2 separate regions of the Homo sapiens genome follow, and region 2 is linked to region 1. Evidence: promoter capture Hi-C in 16 types of primary human blood cells and fetal thymus (Javierre and others, 2016). All regions are on one chromosome and are shown on one strand. The core of a region is centred on a gene start or on the middle of the fragment in contact, and the rest is flanking DNA. Distances in the headings are between cores, read along the strand shown. Region 1 holds the start of NDUFA6 (NADH:ubiquinone oxidoreductase subunit A6). Region 2 has its middle 38 kb from the start of LINC01315.

Evidence for each region. The method cuts DNA at HindIII sites, captures the fragments that hold promoters and counts their contacts. A CHiCAGO score of 5 or more calls a contact.
Region 2: a contact is called between a fragment that was not itself captured here and the fragment with the promoter of NDUFA6 in region 1, in 2 of 17 cell types (naive CD4 T cells and activated CD4 T cells). The highest score is 6.1, in naive CD4 T cells.

Annotation. Positions count from the first base shown.
Region 1 is chr22:42,087,212-42,093,791 of GRCh38, reverse strand. It overlaps NDUFA6 (NADH:ubiquinone oxidoreductase subunit A6), which reads left to right and starts at 3,020. Exons shown (of 3, transcript NM_002490.6): 1 at 3,020-3,186. The coding sequence starts at 3,048. It overlaps NDUFA6-DT (NDUFA6 divergent transcript), which reads right to left and starts at 2,859. Exons shown (of 5, transcript NR_034118.2): 1 at 2,611-2,859; 2 at 2,192-2,495; 3 at 1,560-1,673. The HindIII fragment of the contact is 8,372 bases long and covers 1,858-6,580 here.
Region 2 is chr22:42,327,834-42,334,413 of GRCh38, reverse strand. It overlaps a transcript of TCF20 not described here. Among named protein-coding and RNA genes, the nearest start is that of LINC01315, 38 kb to the left of the region's middle. The HindIII fragment of the contact is 1,123 bases long and covers 2,159-3,281 here.

The sequences.
Region 1 (6,580 bases), core at 1,771-4,270:
GAATCATACAGTATGTAGCTCTTTCAGATTGTCTTCTTTCACTTACTAATATGCATTTAAGGTTTCTCCATGCCTTTTCATGGCTTAATAGCTCATTTCTTTCTAGTGCTGAATATAGTCCATTGTCTGGATATACCAAGGTTTATTTATCCATTTACCTGCTAAAGGACATCTTGGTTGCTTTCAAGTTTTGGCAATTACAAATAAAGCTGCTGCTGGCCGGGAGCGGTGGCTCACGCCTGTAGTCCCAGAACTTTGGGAGGCCAAGGCGGGCAGATCACGAGGTCAGGAGATCGAGACCATCCTGGCTAACATGGTGAAACCCCGTCTCTACTTAAAATACAAAAAATTAGCTGGGCTTCGTGGCAGGCGCCTGTAGTCCCAGCTACTTGGAGGCTGAGGCAGGAGAATGGCGTGAACCCAGGAGGCAGAGCTTCCAGTGAGCCGAGATCGCGCCACTGCACTCCACCCTGGGTGACAGAGCGAGACTCCATCTCAAAAACAAAAACAAAAACAAAAGCTGCTGTAAACATCCATGTGCAGGTTTCTGTGTGGACATAAGTTTTCAGCTCATTTGGGTAAACACTAAGGAATGCAATGGCTGGATCTTCTGATGGGAGTATGTTTAGTTTTGTCAGAAAGCCAAACTGTCTTCCAAAGCTGCTGTACCATTTTGCGTTCCTACCAGTAAGGAGAGTTCCTGTTGCTTCACATCCTCACCAGCATTTGGTGTTGTCTCCCTTGCCCATTTCTAAACTTGGCTATTTGTCTTTTCATTACTGAGTTGTAAGAATTTTATGTATCCTAGATACAAGTCCCTTATGGAACATGTGATTTGCAAAAATTTTCTCCCAGTTTGTGGGTTGTTTAGAGGTCTTTTTTTTCTTTTCCTTTTGAGACAGGGTCTCACTCTGTCGCCCAGACTGGAGTCCAGCGGCGCAATCTTGGCTCACCGCAACCTCCACCTCGCGGGCTCAAGCGATCCTCCTGCCTCAGCCTCCCGAGTAGCTGAGATTACAGGTGCCCACCACCATGCCGGCTAATTTTTGTATTTTTAGTAGAGACGGGGGTTTCACCATGTTGGCCAGGCTGGTCTCGAACTCCTGACATCAGGTGATACACCTGCCTTGGCCTCCCAAAGTGTTGGGATTACAGGAGTGAGCCACTGCGCCCCATTTTTTTTTTGAATGTTGAACACAATGAATTTATCATGATAGTGGGTACTTCTGAAGGAGGCAGGGGTATACACAAGGTTAGAATCATACAGGTAGATATCATGGTATAGGTGCTGCGAGAGTCAGAAAACTGACTCTGGCACCAGCTGCCTGGGCTTCAACCCCAATGCTGTAAAGTAACTTAGTCTCTTTGTGCCTCAGTTTTCTCATCTATAAAATGAGTATATCAGCCGGGGGCAGTGGCTCACACCTGTAATCCCAGCACTTTGGGAGGCTGAGGTGGGTGGATCACCTGAAGTCAGGAGTTTGAGACCAGCCTGGCCAACATAGCAAAACCCCGTCTCTACTAAAATACAAGCATTAGCCATGCATGGTGGTGCGCACCTGTAATCCCAGCGATTCGGAAAGCTGAGGCAGGAGAATGGCTTGAACATGAGAGGCGGAGGTTGCAGTGAGCCGAGATTGCACCATTGCAGTCCAGCCTAGGTGAGTCTCACTCTGTCTCAAAAAAAAAAAAAAAAAAGGGTATATCAACACAATCTCACTGGTGTGTTGTGAAGCCTAGCCAAGTTAATGTACCTAGAGAACTAGAGAACAGTGGCTACTAAGGACATCTAAGGACACTTTATACAAACCTTAACTGTGTTACAACTTCTTAAGTCAGTACTGAGGTTCAAAAGCTTCCATTTTATTATTATGCTTTATAATTTATATATGTTACGTGCTTTCTTTTGTATAGCTCACTTGAATATATATATACATTTTAGAAGATAATAAGGAAGAAAAAAAGTATATCTGGTTTTTTAACCCTTCGAAATGGGAAAGTTTGGAGTAGATGCTCAGCCCCGGCCCCTGGCCCTTCCCCAATACTCACAGGCTCCTGTCAACTACACCTTCAGAAAAAGACGGAGCCTCTTAGGCAGCAGTCAGGCAGGTGGGGGCGATCTGTCAGGTGACCTAGACTCTGGGCCATCTCAGTTTCCTCACCTGTAAAATGGGGATGCTGAGGTACCTACCTGACCTATGAGAGCGGAGAACACTGAGATATCTTGCCCATGGCCTGCCCTGTGGTTAGCTGTCGTTTTTTCCTTGACACTTGTAGGCTCCTCTTCATGTTTACATAACCTCAGTGGGAAAACGCCAGCGAAGAGAGACACTCAGAATGGACGATCTAAAGTTCCTTCCAGCTTCCAAATTCTGGGCTGGTTTTCAGAGATCCAGGGCTCGGGATGCGAATGTCCCTGTCTACGATGGGGCTGCCGTTACAGCCTTCCTCCCGGGGCTCTGGAGACGCGCCAGCTCTTTGACACCTCTCCTGCGCTAAGGAAGAGTTGGTTTACAGAAAAGTAAGTATATCCTGGCCCTGCAGAAAGCCGCCAGGCGGCAGGACAAGCCCCACCGCAGCCCAGGCGCCATTATCTGCCTCAGCAGTTACCTCGGGGTCCCGCCACGAGGAGGTTCTTCAAGGCCTGCGCGCCCACGGACACTACCAAGGAGCGCGGCGGGCAGCCGGATAGCAGGACGCTGAGGGAAACCCCGCAGTCGCTCGGCGTCCCCGGCGCCAGCTCACGACCCAGCGACCTCCTGCGGCCCGAGCGTCCCCTGGCGGCAACGCCGGCTCGTTAGAGCGAGCGACAGATGGTGTAGTCCAAAGGCCAAGCGGCGTTTCTGTAGATGAGCATGCGCAGCACCCACCGTTCGCTCAGCCAGAGAGAGGCTTCCCAGCCAATCCGAGAGCCTCAGAGTCATCCTCCCGCCCACCCAGCATACAGGCGGGGCGTTCCTCCTTAGCCAATGGGAAAAGACATTCGCCCGCGGTCCGCACGCGCTGCTTGCAAAGGGGTGGGGTTGTGGAGTGGATGCTTTGGCAAGATGGCGGGGAGCGGCGTCCGCCAAGCTACTTCTACCGCCAGCACCTTCGTGAAGCCCATTTTCAGTCGGGACATGAACGAGGCCAAGCGGAGGGTGCGCGAGCTCTACCGCGCCTGGTATCGGGAGGTGCCGAACACTGGTGAGAGGTAGCGGCTTACGTGGGGACCCGGAGGCCGCCGCTCAAGGTCGTAGCCGGCCCGGCCGGGGTTTCTCATGGGCCCAGCTGAGGTCACCAACTTGGGCAGAGGCGACTGCGGGTGCTTCAGGGGAAGAGGGTCACCCGAGCCTACCATGGGCCGGACCTGGCGGCGGCGCGGTGGTCAGACCGGCCGTGCCTAGCATTCGTACGTGCTATCGGAGCTTTGGTCTCTTTTGTCCTTCGCAATTGGCGGGAGGACGATGACTGTCAGTGACACACTCACTTTGTGGGTGAGGCAGCGGAGGCACCGAGAGGTGAAGTGATGTGCCCAGGGCCCAGGCCGAGCCACTGTTGTACCCAGAACCCAAAGTCTAGAGTTGCAGAGTGTAATTATAGATGCCCGTTGGATTTTTTTGTTTGTGACAGAGTCTCGCTGTGTCGCTCAGGCTGGAGTGCAGTGGTGCGATCTCGGCTCACTGCAAGCTCCGCCTCCCGGATTCACGTCATTCTCCTGCCTCAGCCTCAGCCTCCCGAATAGCTGGGATTACAGGCGCCCGCCACCACGCCGGCCATTTTTTTTTGTATTTTTAGTAGAGACGGGATTTCACCGTGTTAGCCAGAATGGTCTCGATCTCCTGACCTCGTGATCCGCCCGTCTCGGCCTCCCAAAGTGCGAGAAAGAGGTGTTTTTGAGTGAGCTGGAGCACGGTGCCACTCCTCAGGGCTGTCGAGTCCCTGCTTGTGTGTGTGAAAAGGCGGTAGAATGTGGTGGTTAGGAGCACGGACTTTTCTTCAGGCGCTGCCCTCAACTAGCTGTGTGACCTTGGGCCAGTTATTTCATCTATTCCTCAGTTTCTTCATCTTTAAAATGGGAATAATAATTCCTTCTTCAGAAGGTTACTGTATTAAGTTAAAATATCTAGAGTGCTTAGAACAGGACTTGATGCATATTTAACTCATTAAATATTAGCTGCTGCCGTTGTTTTTGTTGTTATTTTTGTTATTTATAGGGCTTTCCTTAGCAGCAGCTTCCAAGCAGAACCCGGTTCTTTGACATATGAGAACTGTGTCTGCTCCACAGAGTCCCTGTCTTCAAGCTGACTTTTGGAAAAATTGCTACTGACCAGAACTTAAACCCACGCGATACTAGAGAAGGAGAAACTTGAGTGATCTGCTGGTTCAGGGACTGCAAATTCAGATGCCTTCAGGGGCAGGCAGATAAAAGATGTGTGTGGGGAGTGACTGTAGCAGTGTGTGTGTGTGTGTGTGTGTGTGTGTTTCGGGGTGGTGCATTCAAATTCAGCAGTTTGAAAACATAATGTTTGCCTGGCAGAATACTTCTAGGAGTACCCAGAACCCTCTCTGGTTGCAGGAGGAAGGTGCTGGGGGAAGGAGGACCACATTCAAAAAGGGTGGCTTGTGAAGGGTAAATCAGTGGCCAAGTAGAAGACAGAACCCAGGTATCCTGACTCTGAGGATCCAGCTCTTTCTAAACCGACCCCTCCCAAGACCTTCCCTCAAATTCTGTTTTGGGAAGAAAGTCCCAAAGTCAGAAGGGTCTTGAGAGGAGGAAAAGAAGGCAGAGGGCTACAGGAGCCTAGAAAGCAAGGGAAGAGGAGAGAAAAGAAGGGGTCAAGGAGTATGCATCCCTATGGGGAAGATCAGTGATCTGTAGCTGGCCAGTTACTCAAACCTGTGCCACACGGGTTTTATGGTATCCATCATCAGGACTCCAGCTGAGGAATCAAATCAAGGAAGGGGAATAAGTAATAGTGTTGAGAACTTAGAACAGCCTGAGCATTAATAAAAAACAAAAGTAAAATTTTAAGTATTTAATGAAAAAAACAGTAATGATAACTCACTTTTTTTTTTTTTTTTTTTTTTGAGACAGAGTCTCGCTCTTGTCTCCCAGGCTGGAGGGCAATGGCGCGATCTTGGCTCACTGCAACCTCCACCTCCCGGGTTCAAGTGATTTCCCCATGCCTCAGCCTCCCGAGTAGCTGGGATTATAGTTGCGTGCCACCACACCTGGCTAACTTTTGTATTTTTAGTAGAAACGGGGTTTCACCATGTTGGCCAGGCTGTCTTGAACTCCTGACCTCAGGTGATCCACCTGCCTTGGCCTCCCAAAGTGCTGGGATTACAGGCGTGAGCCACCGCGCCCAGCTAATAAAATAATAATTATTTTTTTTGAGACGGAGTCTCGCTCTGTCGCCCAGGCCGGACTGCGGACTGCAGTGGCGCAATCTCGGCTCACTGCAAGCTCCGCTTCCCGGGTTCACGCCATTCTCCTGCCTCAGCCTCCTGAGTAGCTGGGACTACAGGCGCCCGCCACCGCGCCCGGCTAATTTTTTGTATTTTTAGTAGAGACGGGGTTTCACCTTGTTAGCCAGGATGGTCTCGATCTCCTGACCTCATGATCCACCCGCCTCGGCCTCCCAAAGTGCTGGGATTACAGGCGTGAGCCACCGCGCCCAGCCTTTTTTTTTTTTTTTTTTTGAGACACAGTCTCACTCTGTCACCCAGGCTGGAATGCAGTGGCCCATCTCAGCTCACTGCACCCTCCACCTCCCGGGTTCAAGTGATTCTCCTGCCTCAGTCTCCCGAGTAGCTGGGATTACAGGCACCCACCACCATGCCCGGCTCATGTTTGTATTTTTAGTGGAGACGGGGTTTCACCATGTTGGCCAGGCTGGTCTTGAACTCCTGACCTCAGGTGATCCACCTGCCTTGGCCTCCCAAAGTGCTGGGATTACAGGCGTGAGCCACCGCGCCCAGCTAATAAAATAATTATTATTTTTTTTGAGACGGAGTCTCGCTCTGTCACCCAGGCTGGAGTGCAGTGGTGCGACCTCGGCTCACTGCAAGGTCCACCTCCCGGGTTCACACCATTCTCCTGCCTCAGCCTCCCGAGTAGCTGGAATTACAGGCACCCACCACCACACCCGGCTAATTTTTTGTATTTTTAGTAGAGACGGGGTTTCACTGTGTTAGCCAGGGTAGTCTCGATCTCCTGACCTCATGATCCGCCCACCTCGGCCTCCCAAAGTGCTGGGATTACAGGCGTGAGCCACCGCGCCCAGCCCATAAAATAATTTTTTAAAAAATACACTCAGGCACAAGAAAGTTAACTTACACGGGATCATATAGCTAACAAAAGCTGGGATTTGAACCCAGGTTGTTCAAACTCTTGAACAATGCTTTACTGCCTCTTCAAATTCAGTGGTCTTTTTCCCCAAACAAATAATAAGTTCCTTGAGAGCAAATACCATGAATCACATGTCTCATCCTCAAGCACCTAGCCTAGGGTCAGGCTAATTTTTTGGTGAAGAAATGAATGGGCGACCTGTATGTGTTCAATGAGTATCATTTGACTCTAGGTTTTATTTAACCA
Region 2 (6,580 bases), core at 1,471-3,970, 240 kb before region 1:
GTTGTGCCCAGGGGCTGACCATGGGCATCCAGCCATCTAGCTGCTTCTTGACTCCTCATTGGGGTACCCCTGGGACACCAAACCTCCTAGAGCCTCAGTGTACTCCTCTGTAAAATGGAGCCAATGATGATTCTGACCCCGGGCCCTGTCCCTAGGTTGTTGGCAGACTCATGAGAAAATGATATTAAAGGGCCGTGAGGACAGCTGAGCCTACAAATTGTTGGTGAGGTTGCCACCAGTCTGATTTCCCAAGGCCACCCAAGGTCCCAGGGAGGAGGGTGAGATGTTCAGGCTCTGGACAGGGAACCAGGCCTCTCCCTGCTTCCAGCTGCCCATGGTGTGAGGGGCACCTGGCCATGCAGCCCCTCTGACACCAAGGGTACCATTATGTTGAGTCACCTTTATCTGGTGGCTCATCTGGAACCTTGTGAGCCTGTTCCCACAGGAGTCTGCTAAACTCCAGCCCCAGGCAGGGGCCACCCGTTGGCCTGGGTTCCCACTGCGCTTGTGCCTATGGTCCTGTGTCCCAGTGGCACCTGGAGGAGCCATCGTGGTGGGCCGGTGCTCCTCCTAGAGGGAAGCCCTAGGCCAGGCCTGGCACATAGTGGGTGAGCAGGTTGGGCACCTGGAAGCTTGGGCTAGGCCTGCCTTCTATCGCCTTCCTCTGTGTGTGGCTGTGGGCAGTGAGTTACAGGCTTAGTACCTACTGCGTGGAGCAGTAGGCATACTGTGTGTTCTGGTCTCTGAATTGCTCTCCACTTTGTGGCGAGGGGCAAGCTGGCTCACAGGGGCCTGATATGAGGGTTTTTACACCTTTACCCCTTTGCCTCTGAGGCAGGTGGGGACCACTGGTTCCTTACCGAAACTGAGGCTCAAAGAGGGCCAAGGTGTGGTGGAAGCCAGATACTTTTCTGCTTCTGTGTGACTTGCGTTCATGGTGCAGTGGCTGTCAGCCAGGCTTGTGCACAGCCCTGGTGCACCGTCCTCTAAAGCCTCTGCACAGCGAGACAGCTCCTGCCACTGTCTACACACAGCCCTGGTGCACCATCCTCTAAAGCTTCTGCACAGCGAGGCAGCTCCTGCCACTGTCTACACACAGCCCTGGTGCACCATCCTCTAAAGCCTCTGCACAGTGAGGCACCTCCTGCCACTGTCTACACACAGCCCTGGTGCACCATCCCCTAAAGCCTCTGCACAGCGAGGCAGCTCCTGCCACTGCACACAGACTGGGTGCACCGTCCTCTAAAGCCTCTGCACAGTGGGGCAGCTCCTGCCATTGCATTTTGCCAATGCAAAAACAGAGATTAAGAGAGGCAGAGTGACGCAGCCAGGCTTTTGTTTTTACTTTTTCTTGGAGGTATAACTTAATACAGAAAAGTGCACACTTCTTAAGTGTACAGCTATAGGTAGCTGTGCAGCCTCCATCCAGATCCAGACCTAGAACATCCCCAGTGCCCCTGGAGGCTCCCCCGTGCTCCTCCCAGTCAACCCCCACCTGCTGCCAGCAGCTGCCCCCACTCCTGGCATCTGACAGTAGAGGCTGGCCTTGTCCATCTCTGCACTTTATAGAAACAGAGCCGCACAGCATGGTCCCTTTCCTGTAGCATCGTGTTTGCCCATGCAGTTGCTTTATCAGAAATTGGCTGTGCGGGGCACGGTGGCTCATGCCTGTAATCCCAGCACTTTGGGAGGCTGAGGCAGGCAGATCACTTGAGGTCAGGAGTTTGAGACCAGCCTGGCCAATATGGTGAAACCCCATCTCTACTAAAATTGCAAAAATTAGCAGGGAGGCTGAGGCAGGAGAATTGCTTGAGCCCGGGAGGCGGAGGTTGCAGTGAGCCGAGATGGTACCACTACACTCCAGCCTAGGCAACAACAGAGCGAGACTCCGCCTCAAAAAAAGAAAGAAAGAAAGAAATTGGCTGAACTGGTATTTGAACTCTCCCGCTCACTCTCCCCGTCGAACCCAGAGTGCTGCCCTTGCTTACATTGCCATCACCCTTGGAATGAGACCGAGATCCTCCCCCTGGCTGTTCCTGCTCCAGCTCCTGCACTGGTCACTACACTCCAGCCACATAGAGGGACCTTTTGTTCTCAAAAGCCCTGAGCTGCTTCCTACCTCAGGGCCTTTGCACTTGCTGTTCCGACCTCCCAAGCTTCTCCCTGCCTGGCTAATACCCTCAGAGCCCAGCTGGAGTATCACCTCCTCTGCCAGGCAGGGCCTTCCTGGTGCATGTTATCAGGCTAGTTCGTAGTGCCCATGTCATTTGTAATAGTTATCTGTTATGCATCTGCTCGCCCTAGACAGAAAACTCCAGGAGGCAGGGATGGTGTCTGCTGAGTTCACGGCTGGACCCCGGTGCCTTTCGTTGGTTCACTCACTCTTCCTTCCTGTCATCTGTTCCTTCAGCAAGTCCTGAGCACCTGACATGTGATAGCATCTTGCTAGTATTTGTTGAGCGGATGAGTGGATGAAGGAATATCCATCTGTCTCTAAAGCCTGTACTCTTTCCACTACATTCCGTGATCTCTGACACCCCTCTCTTGGCCCCATTTTCCCCAGTTGTCAAATGAAGGAACCAGACCTTCCCTTCCTGGCTAAGTTCAGATTCTGAGGATGTAAGGCAAGTGGGCTGGCTTACAGCCCAGCTGCGCAGGGTAGTGACCATAGACTACAAGGCAGGTTCTGCACCACCCCCAGTGCCTGGCAGAGTGCTTTCCACACCTGCACCATCAGAGCCCCCAGGCTGCTGTTGGGGTGCAGGGCTCAAGCCCTAGACATGTCAAGGGACTTGCTGAGGCCACACATCTGACCACAGCCTCAGAGCTCCAAGCTCAGCCTGCTGGGCCTCAAGGGCAGGAAGAGGCAAGGTTGCCCGGGTCTGGGAGGCACTGGGAATAGGGCTGGTGATGGGGGTCCCTGGTGGACCTGGGTTCCTGTCTGACTTAACCCCACAAGGCTATGTGGCTTTGGTAAGTCACTTTCTCTCGTGGGCTATAGAAATGGGAGTGACTGTTGTGATTGTCCCTCCCTGATAGGGCCTCTGAGGCTCACGAGATCTCAGGGAGCACACAGTAGGTCTCTGTGAGGCCAGCTGTTTCCAGGGCGTGCGGCAGGACTGGGTCTCTGCCGGGAGCTGTGCAGCACCCGGTGGCTCGTGGCTTAGCGGCTTGTCAGCCAGGCGGGCGGGTGTCCTGGGGCCGGGTTTGATTAGTTCAGGTTGACAGTCGCGCTCCGCGGCGCTGCCGGGAGGGGAGCCCGTGATTACCCTAATGAAGCTTGAACACAGTTTGTCATCCAAACAGCTGGTTCGTAGCTGTGCTGCTGCCAGCTGCCCGACTCAGCAGTGCAACCGCATGCCCAGGACCGCCCCAGCCCCGAGCAGCCCTGCCACCTGCTCGATGGATGACCAGGGGCAGGGGGTGGCGGCCCTGGGTGGGCTGTGGGGCAGCCCCAGGGGAATGAGATGGGCCACTCAGGGGTGGGGGACTTGGCAGAGCCTTAGACCAGCGAAGCAGGGCAGCTTCTCAGGACATTCACGGGCAGCCCCTGATCCTAGGCCTCAGTTTCCCCATCTGTAAAGTAGGTATTGGTGACCTTGCAGCTTCAAGTTTCTGAATTCAGGCTGAACTGTTGCCTCCTCTGGGAACACTTCCTGGACTCTGTGGGCTGGATCAGGGGCTCGGATGGGTGCCCACAGCCCTCAAGGCAGGCCCTGCCACCCCGATGGCCCTGTGTTGTCACTGAAGGTCAAGAGTTGTCATGTCTCACTCATCCACTCATTTATTTATTCATTTAATAAATAGTAAGAACACACAGCAGTGAGCAAGACAGTCCCTGTTCTGCATTCGTGGAGTTTTCAGTCTGGTTTGGGGGAGACTGTGGGGCTGTGACCTCATCTAGGGGATAGAAAAGACTTCCTGGAGGATATAGCATCTGAGCTCAGAACAACCAGCAGGGGAGAGACACAGAGAAGAGTGTTGCAGGCAGGAGGAACAGCGTGTACAAAGGCCCTGAGGTGGGGGGGAAGGAGCGAGGTGTTTGGAGGGATGTTGGGCACCCGGGGACACTGCAAACGTCAGTGCCTCAGGGACTTATTCCTGCCCTGTGCTCAGCAAGTTCACTGTGATGCCCTCTCATTGACCCTTTGTTATGGCCCTGGAAGGAAGGATCACTGTTTCATGCTGCAGATGAGGAAATTGAGACCCACAGCATAGAAGGCAGTGCCCTCCAGGCCTCTGCAGCCTCCAGCCTGCCTGGTGGCCCCCTGAGAGGCCCTGGCCAGGGGTTGTCTGCTCAGCTTGGAGTGGAATCTGCAGGGCCACTCAGATGGGGTGGCGGTGGGCCTGGGTCCCTGTTGAGGCCTTAAGCTCTTGCCTGATGGAGGAGGCCAAGGGAAGGGGCCCACAGGCAGCCGAGGGCCTCTGCTAGATGGCTGGGTGGGTTTCCTATTACTCTGGGCCAGGACCTACCTGTATTTGAACTTGGTGGCCCCTGGTGAGTTCATACTCCCTCCACCTCCCACTGAGCCCACAGCCATTTCGGGGGCCACACTTTCCCACTTGGCTTTGCTTGGGGATGGGGCAGGCAGGCAGGGGGAGGAAGGGGACTCGGTGGGGGGAGTGGCAAGGGAATGGGCACTGGCCTGCAGCCCCAAGAGCCTCTGGCCTCCCCCACGGCCAGCCCTGAGCTGCTTCCCGGTTTCTCTGCCACCGTCTGTGGCTAGGCCACCCTCTCAGCCCTCCTGCATCCCTGCAGTGGCCTCCTGGGTGGCGATCCAGCATGTGTCTACTATGGTCATCCTGACCCCACCTCCCCTCCCGTCTCCTTGCTTTTTCCACCCCACACCATCCATAGCTCCCTGTTACCACTGCACAAAGCCCACGTTCTGGCTCGGCATTCATGGCCTCCCAGCCTCGAGCCCCGCTTCTCTCCTCCTTGAGCCTGCTCGCCCTCCTTACTTTGCTCCTGAATATCCATGGTCTCTTCCTCCTGCAGAGGCGAGTGTGAGGCCCTGAGTCCTACGTGGTCATCTGTCCTGTGGCCATTCTCCTGGCAGGTGCGTTCAGGCTGGGCGCCAGTCTCGCCAGGTGCTCACCCCCACAGCTGGGCGGATGGAAGCAGCCCTTGGCAGCCTGTGTGCTGGGGATGAGGATGGTTTATGGCCTTGCTGCAGGAAGGGAGGAATTCCCACCGCTCTTCTGACTCCTTATCACTTCTTGGTGTGACTGCGCTGCCGCCTGCCTGAGAAGGTGCTGGCCCTGGAAGAGAATGGTTTATCAGATCCACCCGCCTCTCCCGGGCTCTTGGAGACCCCACCAGTCTCTGTCCTGGCTCAGAGGGGGAGCGGGGAAATGAAATTAACAAACAAGGGGCTGCAGAGTGAGGTGGAGGGTGCTGGGAGACCCATGTGGACAGAGCAGGCTCCAGCCGGCCTGGGCCTGGGGTCATGTGGTTCAGGCGTTTCAGGCTTCCCACACAGTGGGCAGGGAGGCACGAGGCTGGAGAGAGCACCAGGATGCTTGTGGCTTGTCCTGCCCCAGCCTGTGACTTTCACCGGGGATGCCCTTCCCTGGCTAAGACCTGGGGTGGGGGCTTTCCCCCCCGTCTGGGGCAAGCTTTAGCAAAGGGGTTTAGTGAACCAGTGAACACTGACAATCCCAAAGGGGTGCTGAGCCCTGACCGTGTGCCAGCACCTAGATTAAGCATTTCACATGTGTGATCCCTTTGACTCTACCCACAACCCTGTGACCAGGAAACGGAGGCACAGAGAGGTTAAGTGACTTGCTCAGGGCGTGGGTGAGTGGGAGGTGAGCCAGGGAGTAGGTGAGCTGGCATTTGATCCTGGGTGATCTGAAGCTAGAGCCTGGATGTGCAACCAAGAGATGAAGGTGGGAAGGGGGCTGGACAGGGGACCAGACCAGGTTCACGGGGGGCTGCGGATGGGAGCTGTGCTTGAGCCTTGTGGGACTGGGTACTGCTAGAGCCTTAGAGCTGAGCTGCCTCCACACACACCCTCAGTGGGCCTAGACCTCGGAGCCACATGCCTGGACCCTGAGGGCGCCCATCCCGTCTTGCCTCAGGGGAGCCCACAGGATGCCCCACAGGGCTGCTCATTTGCTGAAAATATGTTGCAGAGAGCTGGGCCCTGCAGAGGCTGTGTCCAGTCTGGCTGGAGCGGACACGTGGGCAGAACAGCTAGAGACGTGTGGTTCTCCCGAGTAGAGAGCAGCTCACGCCCCCTGCATGGCTGAGCCTGGGAGGGTGGGTGGAGAAGGGGCATTTGTTCAGTTGAGAGAAGACAAGCCCTGACCCAACAATAGTAATGGCAAATCAGATATTCACAGAGGTGAAAGTAACGTCGCAGCTGACATAAGGGCTGTGAAGACTGAAGGAAGTCAGGGAGGCTTCCTGGAGGAGGGGGCCCAGAGCTATGATGGGAAGGAGGTAGGAATTAAATGAGTAAGCAGGAAACAGTGTGCAAGGCTAAGAGAAAGCCTGTGCAAAGCCCCTGCGGTAGGGAGTGCTATACTTTGAGGCCGGGGAAGGCAACCTGTGTTTTTTGAGCAAGAGGATCTG